Regions from separate parts of the Homo sapiens genome. Here regions 2 and 3 are each linked to region 1. Evidence: promoter capture Hi-C in 16 types of primary human blood cells and fetal thymus (Javierre and others, 2016). All regions are on one chromosome and are shown on one strand. Each heading gives the region's core, a stretch centred on a gene start or on the middle of the fragment in contact. The rest is flanking DNA. Distances are from core to core; before and after follow the strand shown. Region 1 holds the start of NKIRAS1 (NFKB inhibitor interacting Ras like 1). Region 2 holds the start of SETMAR (SET and mariner transposase domain methyltransferase). Region 3 overlaps EDEM1 (ER degradation enhancing alpha-mannosidase like protein 1).

Region 1 (2,891 bases), core at 115-2,614:
AAATACTTCAACAGTAAGTTAATGCTATCTAATAGAAAAAAATAAAACACATCCCAGTCTTTTTCAATGCACCTTAGGCTACTCACACAGGGAGGCACACTGTTTATTTTGCTTTAGTCTGAACTCATTCAGATTTGTAACCTTTGACACACTTGCCACTTTAGACAACAGTGCATACAGTAACTGACCAGTGTTGCTAGCTTTTTTCTGCCAAAGCCCTATGCGAAGAAAGACACTGAGGCAGCAGTGTCTTCCTAACAGCTGGTTTCCAACTTTTCTCGAATATAATTTTATCCAAGCATCCACGCAGTCGATCACGTACCTTGCTTGGCCTTGTAGCCCAGTCGGCGCGCTTTATCAGGCCGGGTGGGGCGGGGAGCCCTGTGGAGAGCAGAGAGCTGGCGGTACTGCCAGCAGCGGACCCTCAGAAGAAAGCGCATGACATCAGACTGCTTCTTTCTCCATAGCTCCTGGATGTACTTGTATGCACCCATCTTGGCTTACCTGTGAAATCAAACTGTGTATTAAATATCATCCGCTTTAAGTACAATAAGACGACTGTATCCGTCCATCTTAGTTCCCCAACAAAAACAAGGAAACCGCCGGGAATGAAAATGGCTCTGCACCAACTGCCGGGGACAGCTAGCCCAACCCCCACCACTGCGCCCACGGAGCCGCGTTCAGTCACTTCCGCAACCCCAGCACAGAGCGGTGCTCGGCACGTTTTGGTGGGGCGAATTAACAGAACCAGAACTGAGCACCAAGGGGGCGGGTGGCTGCGGCAGGCGGCGTCCCCAAGGAGGACCTGAAAGGAGATGCCGCTGACATCACAGGACAAGGTACTGCTGCGGCCACCGAGGATTAACTCTCGAGGAAAATGCATCTACCCCACCCAACCAGCAGCCTCACTTTAGGCTGCCTTGTCCCGGGCGCCCCATTCGTCAGCCCCACGCCTCCTCCAGGATCCGGGCCCAGCTCGAATTCGCGCCGCCATCACATCTTCGCTCAACCCGCCCCGGGGGCCGCCTCTCCACCCCTTTGCTGTCCCGCATCCTGACCAAACTCTGGCCGCACAGGAGGGAGACCTATCTCCGAGGACGCAGGGTCCCCGGACCTGGATGGCTGAAGAGGAAGACGATCAAAGGCGGATGGAAGAGCAAAGATCCTCAACGCAGCCTACCTGATGGCTGCCGCCAGACGGAAAGGAAAGAGCTGTACTCCCACAATGCCTTTTGGGCTCCTCCCCCACCTCAGCCACCCTCTTTCCGGTGGAAAGCTGCGGCCTCCCAGAGCGTCATGGGACATGTAGTTCCGGCATCGCGCCTGGTGGCGGAGTTCTGCCGAGTGGGGCGCCGCGGCCGCTATTGTCCCGCCCCCTGCTCCGCAAGATTCGAGCCTGAGCGGCCTGGGCGTCTCGAGAGGTGAGAGAGTTGGCGGCGAGGTCTCGGCGGCTAAGCGAGCGTCGGCGACTGTCTCTCCGCGAGAGGAGGCAAGTTGGGGTCCAGGCTCCAAAGCCGGTGGCCGCGTACCGCGGTGGAGCCGCTGTCTTTGAGGTCTGAGGAGAGAACAGGTTTGTTTCACGCACCGCGGGCTCTCCCCCTGCGGAGTCTCTGCGTCTCCGCGTCTCCGCGCTGCGCTGTCCCTCTCTGGCCACCGCACGACGGGCGCAGAAATCTGGGCCCCAGAGCTGCGCTGAGAGATCCCCCGACGCTTCCCCAGCCTCCCAGGGAGGCCTTCGCGGAGTCGGGGCGTCGCGGGTCGGGGCGCTCGCTGTGTCCCTTCAGCTCCAGACTGCGTGAAGCTCCTCCAGCAGGCCCCAGCGCCCAGGGATTTTGTCCTAAAAAAGGGTCATGGAGTGGGTGGATTGCGGGCGGCCCGGCGCTTTTTCTGCATACGGATTTCGTCCCAAATTTGCTAACATGAGAACCACAGTTTTTCAGAAGAGCAGAATGTTTATTTGCCAAGACCTGTTTGGCAGGTGTGAATGTTTTAGAGAAGAAATGCCGAGAAAATGCTGGCATTTTGCGTTGCGGGTTTTTTTTTAAATTGAGAAATAGGTTACTGGCTTACTTTGTTTCTCCAGAATATTTTCACTTGGCTTTAATTTAAGTCATGTGGCTTTAATTTCCTTCCAGATTATGCGTTCAGATGTGGCAAAGGCTTAAGAGAATCATTATCTCTTAATCGTAGCGGTTTTGATTATCTTTTTTCCCACATCATATTTTTCTTTCTTTCTTTTTAAATCACAGCTTTACGTTTTTAAGAGTCTCTATCTGGTTCATTGATTGATTCAACAAATATTTATTAAGTGTCTAATATGTGCCAGGCATAGTTGCTGGGGATGCAGCAGGAAACAACGCAGAATTTTTGGCCTTCTTGGAAATGGGCAGTAAGCAGAAGTAAGCTGTGTTTTGGGTTTGGTGGTAAATGCTAAGGAAAAAAGATAAGGGGAGGGAAGTGATGAGGGAGTGTTAGCGGCTGAGGGTTGCAATTTGGAATGGAGTGTCCAGGTTAAGTCTTTGAGAGAAGGTAACATTTAAGAAAGGACTTCAAGGATAGGAGTCTGGGAGTAAGAGTAGGGGTCTGATTCAGGCAGAGGGAGAAGAGCCATGACTGGAGCATGCAAGATTAATAGAGGAACAGCAGGGAAGCAGTGTGGCTGAAATTCACAGTAGGGGAAAGTGGGAAATGACGTCGGAGAGGTGAAGGTTCTCACATGGACTTTGGATTTCATTGGCAGATTTTGAACAGAAGGATGACTTCATATGGCGTACATTTTAAAAAGATAACTCGGATTGCTCCTTTTGAGGCTAAAAGGAGAGAAAAAATGGAAGCAGAGAGACTGCTTAGGAAATTGTGTTAGTCTTCCATTGCTCCTGTAACAAATTTCA
Region 2 (2,891 bases), core at 200-2,699, about 20 Mb after region 1:
GCCATGGTCACTCATATTTGGCTCAGAATAAATCTCTTCAAATATTTTAGAGTTTGATTCTTTTCCTTGACATCTTTGAAAGCTGCTATTGAATCTCTTATCTTATCTGATCCTCACAAAAACCCCTAGGAAAAAGAAAGGGCAGATAGGGTTCATTGTTGATAATGGATGTTAAAGGGGCTATGCATTTTTAAATTATTATTTTCATTTTGCAGATGAAGAAACTCAGGCTCTGGGAAGTAGCTAAGATGTCTAAGCTCCGAACCATACTCTCCAACTTCCACGTCCAGCGCTCTTTCCACTTCAAAATCTTTGGTCATTCCTTATTCCTTGGGTAACGCTCAGGCCAAGGTCGGAGGGATAAGAAAGTCAGTAGAGGCTGGGAGCGTGGCTCATGCCTGTAATCCCAGCATTTTGGGAGGCCGAGGCGGGCGGATCACCTGAGGTTGGGAGTTCGAGACCAGCCTGACCAACATGGAGAAACCCTGTCTCTACTAAAAATACAAAAATTAGCCGGGCGTGGTGGCCCATGCCTGTAATCCCAGCTACTCGGGAGGCTGAGGCAGGAGAATCGCTTGAACCCGGGAGGTGGAGGTTGCGGTGGGCCGAGATCGCGCCAGTGCACTCCAGCCTGGGCGACAGAGCGAGACTCAGTCTCAAAAAGAAAAAGGAGAGTAGAAAGGGCTTTGAGGTAGTTAATAGAAGCAAACATTTACTGAGTTCTTACAGCAAACCGGAAAGTGTATTTTCCTTGCCATTTTCAAAGCACTCCGGAAGAGAGGTACTGTTCCACTGTACGCTGGAAGACTCTAAGGCTGAGCCACAGCTAATTTACACTCGCCCAAGAGCCCACAGCGTGAGGGAGACCACAGCTAAGGCTGACTCGAGGGGCTGTTTTTATGCACGACACCGGCTGCGATCCATTAATAGGCCCCACGGCTTATCCTACCTGTGAGAGACACCTGAGACCAGGGAGGTAAATGACTCCCCCCGTGATGCCTCCTTGAGTTCTGAGGACAGGACTGGACAAAAAGCCAGGTTCTCACAAGGCCTCCGGTTCTGCGCTTCAGGGAATGGACTGAAAAGGACAACACCCTTGCTAAGGTGATGCCGTGGGTCAACAGAAAAAGGCCCAGGCCGGGGCATGCACACCTATTCCCGCGCACCAACGGGTGCGCTGTAAGAGAAGACAAAAGGTCGCGACTGGGAGGCCGTCCCAGCGAGGCGGCTTGAGGAGACCACGTGGGGGAGCCGCGCGCCCGCCTCCCGCGCCGCCTGGCCCCGCCCCTACCTGGAAGGGCGCCGGCGCGGCCCCCGGGGGCCACGCGCCCACCGGCAAGTTTTCCTGGCCGCACGCGACATCCAGCTGCTCAGTCGGGGCCTCAGGCTTCTCCTTAAACTCCGCCATCCCACAAGGCCGTGTCGTCTTTGCCGCTTCCGCGAACATTTACCCGCCTCACGCAACGCCCACTACCCTGACAGTCCTGGGCCGCGCGGTGGATGCTGGGACTTGTGGTCCCGTGGCCCCACCGCCTCATGGGAATTGTAGTTCGTTTCTTCTCAGGAGTGGCCTGGAAGGCGCTTCCCTTCCTTGACTTTTTGGGTCTGGCTCCCGTTTTGATTTCAGCCAGAGGCACCACAGATAATTACAAAACCATGTAAGGTACGGACGAAACAAAGTGAGGTGCTTTAGTTTTTCCTGGGAGCATCAGAGAGGGGGCTTTCGAGGTGAGGTCATTTGTCCAGGTTTTTGAGGGCTCACTGCACGTTTGTGGAGTGGAGGCAGGGGTGCGTTCTAAACCGAGCGGGGAAACGCACACCAAGGTTTCTAAAGGTCTGCGGCTTGCCGGGAAGTTGACTGACATGTGATAGGGTTTGTGCCAAGGCGATAGCCTCACAGGGTGCCTTAAGGAATTTGTGTGGGGGCATGCTCACTCCCTGATGGAGGTATCCGTGCCCCTTTGCCTGTCCTTTTCCCTCCTCTCCATCCCTCTACCCTCACCCCTCCAAACCCCTGCCCTGCCAAAGGATTCTGATAGCCTCAAGACTGCTGAATCCGGTGGAGCATTTTCAACCTCACTGAAGCTCTCTGACATGATTGTCCTGCTTCTCCTTGAAACTGTAAACCAAAAATAAAATTCCAATCCTCCAAACCATCTGAAGGGACCCCTCCTCTCTGCCAAGGTTAACCTGAGAAAGTGGTTCAGGCCATGATGGGAAGGGGGGTCCAACATGCCTCATTATGCCCTTCTTCCTTTTGGAATTCAGGAAAAGCCAGCCAGCATCAACATCAACACACACCTTAAGTCTGATAAGAAACATTTACAATCTGTTCTCTGAAATTTACCTCTTGGAGGCTTCATCTCCACGATCAAATTTGGTATCCACAACCTCTTATTGCAACCCAGACATTCGTTTCTATTGATTTTAGGTCTTTAGATAATAACCAGTTGCCAATCAGAAAATCTTTAAATCTACCTATGACCTGGAAGCCACCCCTCACCCGCTTCTCGTTGTCTGCCTTTCCAGATCCAACCAATCTTACATGTATTGATTGATGTATTATGTCTCCCTAAAATGTGTGAGAGTAAGCTGTATCCCAACCACCTTGGGCACATGTCATCAGGACTGCCTGAGGCTATGTTGGGGGCGCATTCTTAAGCTTGGGAAAATAAACTTTCTAAATTGAGACCTGTCTCAGATAATTTTGGGTTCACAAACCCTTCTGACCTTGCAGCTTCTGAGGTCCCATTGGCCTAAATGTGTTTCCATCTTGCAGACCTTTCCTTGTTAGTATCCTCTTGTTGTTTTCCTGCCTGACTGTTTCTGAAAAGTGGGTGTGATTCAGGGTTCTGCCCTTGACCTTTTTCTTTGCTCCCCTTCCCTGAACT
Region 3 (2,891 bases), core at 109-2,608, about 19 Mb after region 1:
ATAGAAACTGGTTAAAAAAAAATAGGTTCCCTAAAATCAATCGTACATTCCTTCTCCTTTTTTTAATGGAATCACATTTCCCCTCATTTAACCTTCAACACTTTTCTTGTTCTCCCCATTAAGGTCATTAAAATAAATAACAGTTATCAAAGCTAATGATACATTTTGACTTATCAGGCTCCCTGGAATTCCCACTGCTGGAGGGAACTAGGGATAATCAACTCTAAAACATCTTAATTCATTTTTTTAAAAAAAGGTGAACACTTACTGCAAGTGTATCCAATGCATCAACAAGAGTCAATGAGTAGTTCCCTAGTACATCATTGATGTTCAGATTTGAACTGAAAAAGAAAATTAAAATTCAACAAAAAGACTTTATTTCAAAAGAGAAGACAATAAAAGTAAACACCCATCAGAAACTATAATTGCCAGCAACTCTTATTTATTCAGGAACTAATTATGGGTGAATTAATACAGCAAAGGTCTTTCTACCCCCAAAGTAACACTTTCTATGGTGTCCATAAGTAGAATCAAGTCACAGAACTGTGGAGACACACTTGTACCAGAGTGGAAAGAATGCTCACAGGAAGTCAGGAGGCAGTGAGTCATCTCCTCTCTGAGATTCAGGTTTATCACCATAGACAATCTCCTTGGTCCTGTCCAACTTTAAAAAGCTCTGATTTCACAATCATTAGGAACTAAAGAAGAGCCCTTGTCATACGACCCACCTGTAATACTTTAATACAGAAATTAGACACCACAGCCTATATTACACACAAAAAGAAGTAAATACATTAATTGACAGTGTCAATATTACTCATCTGCCCTATGGTTGGGGGTATAAATTAACTTCTTTACACCATTTCTTCATTAATAACTCATCCAAAGGGTCTTGATTATTTCCGTTAATTCTGAGATATCATTTAACATGAACCTAGGCAGGAATTGAGGCCTTTCTCACTTCTTGACTGGAGCTACATAAACGTTTCTGCCACACACCTCTCACCCCATAATCTACACCAATTTTCCATTCTGAAACAACCTTAAGAAACCAACTTCAGGATGACAAGGGTGAAGCTCCTCAGGCACTGTGGTATGTCTTTGTAACACTTTACAAAAAAGTCAACAACAAAAAAACTAATACATCTGGGAGAATAGGGATGAAGAACTAGTAAAATAAAGGACAGTTTGAGAAATTCTGGGGACTTCATTTATTTATTTGTCCCATTCCCAAAAATCCAGAAAATAAGTGCAGAAGCTTGGAAAAAATGATAGTAAGAGAAGACATAAGACAACTGTTTAAAGATTTTATTAGCAACCAAAGCAAAAAAGCTCCAGTTTTATTTCCAGCAAGATGCATTGATATCTGCAGTCTTCCATCATATCCCAAAGCACTTCATCTGCTCCTCGGATCACCCTAATGGGTCCTTATCTCACCTTCCAGTCAGAGAAGCTTCTGGTGCACAGCACCTCTCGTGTTGTGATGGCTTGCTGTGGTCTCTGAAAGGCCTGTGCCTCAGCTGGGGAAAATGGGGCTTATGTGAAAGAGGCATAACAGCTCCAATGTCTCATTTTATTTGAACCCTCCAGTTGCCTTGTTTTATGCTGTTACACCATCTAATCTAAAGCAAAGAATTTATAGTAAAATTTTAGGCTGGGTGCGGTGGCTCACGCCTGTAATCCCAGCACTTTGGGAGGCCGAGGTGGGTGGATCATCCAAGGTCAGGAGTTCAAGACCAGCCTGGCCAACATGGCAAGACCCTGTCTCTACTAAAAATACAAAAATTAGCTGGGCGTGGTGGCAGGCGCCTGTAATCCCAGCTACTAGGGAGGCTGAGGCAGAAGAATTACTTGAACTCAGGAGGCGGAGGTTGCGGTGAGCCGAGATCATGCCATTGCACTCCAGCCTGGGCAACAAGAGCGAAACTCTGTCTCAAAAAAAAAAAAAATTTTAGATACTGTTTTTTTGAAACGAGATATATATGGGGGCTATAGTCTAGGAACTAGGGCTAGCTCATTTCCTATAAGCTGGGAAGTCAGAAAACTGCTTGGCTGGAAAATTGTACCTGTTTTTTCTATTTGTTGATTTTCTGGAAATAAACTTATACAATAGCAAAAGGTCCCCTCAAAGCAAGAGCTATGGATTCAAATATGCCTCTCAAGCGCAAGTGACAGCCAAAAAAGGTACAAAAAGTGCAAGGGTTGCAGGAGGGGCTCAAAGGAGACAGGGAGATCCTTACGCCCAATTCTGCCAACTCAAGAATGTTCTGCTCTGTGTAAATATTTCACTCTGTTGCTCTGCCGCTTAGAAACAGAGTGGGCTTCAACAGCCCACCTCATCAGAAAACAGCTCCCTCATCATGTAGCATCCAAGCTAGATGGTAATCAGGAGAACCACATGTAACTCCCCTCTCCTGAGTCACACCCAGATCTGCGGCATGTGTCATTCTATCCACCTGCACAGGCCCATGGAAGGAAGGTACTCACTGTGAGCACTGAACTCCTTTCTATGTTTTATTGTGCTTTGCCTTGTAATCTATAACTAAAATAGACCCAGTTTTAAAATATTTTTTACAATGCCCAGTCACTAAAAATTAATGAGCTGCCACAGTAAAAAAAAAAAAAAAAATTACTTGCAGTAACTGTGGGGTTTCTTCTCTCCACTCTAGTCAGACAAATCCTCTCTAAGATCTGGGGTATTTACTCATTAGAACACTTTTAATTCTTTCTTACCAAATAATTGCTACATCCTCTTTCAAAAGGTGCCAAAATAAGGGGGAAGTGGGAGTGAGGATGAAGGAAGAAAAAAAAACACCATAAAACTCTACTGGCCTAACAGCATGAAATTATTATGACTCCATTTATGCCAGCCCACTATGCAGCTCAGACTC

What was found. The method cuts DNA at HindIII sites, captures the fragments that hold promoters and counts their contacts. A CHiCAGO score of 5 or more calls a contact.
Region 2: the fragment with the promoter of SETMAR here is called in contact with the fragment with the promoter of NKIRAS1 in region 1 in 1 of 17 cell types (activated CD4 T cells); the score reaches 6.2 in activated CD4 T cells.
Region 3: a fragment that was not itself captured here is called in contact with the fragment with the promoter of NKIRAS1 in region 1 in 1 of 17 cell types (non-activated CD4 T cells); the score reaches 5.7 in non-activated CD4 T cells.

What each region holds. Positions count from the first base shown.
Region 1 is chr3:23,915,463-23,918,353 of GRCh38, reverse strand. NKIRAS1 (NFKB inhibitor interacting Ras like 1) reads left to right here and starts at 1,364. Exons shown (of 5, transcript NM_020345.4): 1 at 1,364-1,570. RPL15 (ribosomal protein L15) reads right to left here and starts at 1,222. Exons shown (of 4, transcript NM_002948.5): 1 at 1,181-1,222; 2 at 323-504. The coding sequence starts at 494. RefSeq lists enhancers at 481-580, 510-1,709, 961-1,760. The HindIII fragment of the contact is 19,179 bases long and covers 1-2,891 here.
Region 2 is chr3:4,301,927-4,304,817 of GRCh38, reverse strand. It overlaps SETMAR (SET and mariner transposase domain methyltransferase), which reads right to left and starts at 1,449. Exons shown (of 3, transcript NM_006515.4): 1 at 1,292-1,449. The coding sequence starts at 1,447. It also overlaps a transcript of SUMF1 not described here. RefSeq lists enhancers at 1,012-1,081, 1,110-1,852 and a silencer at 1,172-1,511. The HindIII fragment of the contact is 4,274 bases long and covers 1-2,664 here.
Region 3 is chr3:5,192,659-5,195,549 of GRCh38, reverse strand. It overlaps EDEM1 (ER degradation enhancing alpha-mannosidase like protein 1), which reads right to left. Exons shown (of 12, transcript NM_014674.3): 2 at 269-341. Among named protein-coding and RNA genes, the nearest start is that of EDEM1, 6.4 kb to the right of the region's middle. RefSeq lists enhancers at 461-530, 931-1,000. The HindIII fragment of the contact is 195 bases long and covers 1,261-1,455 here.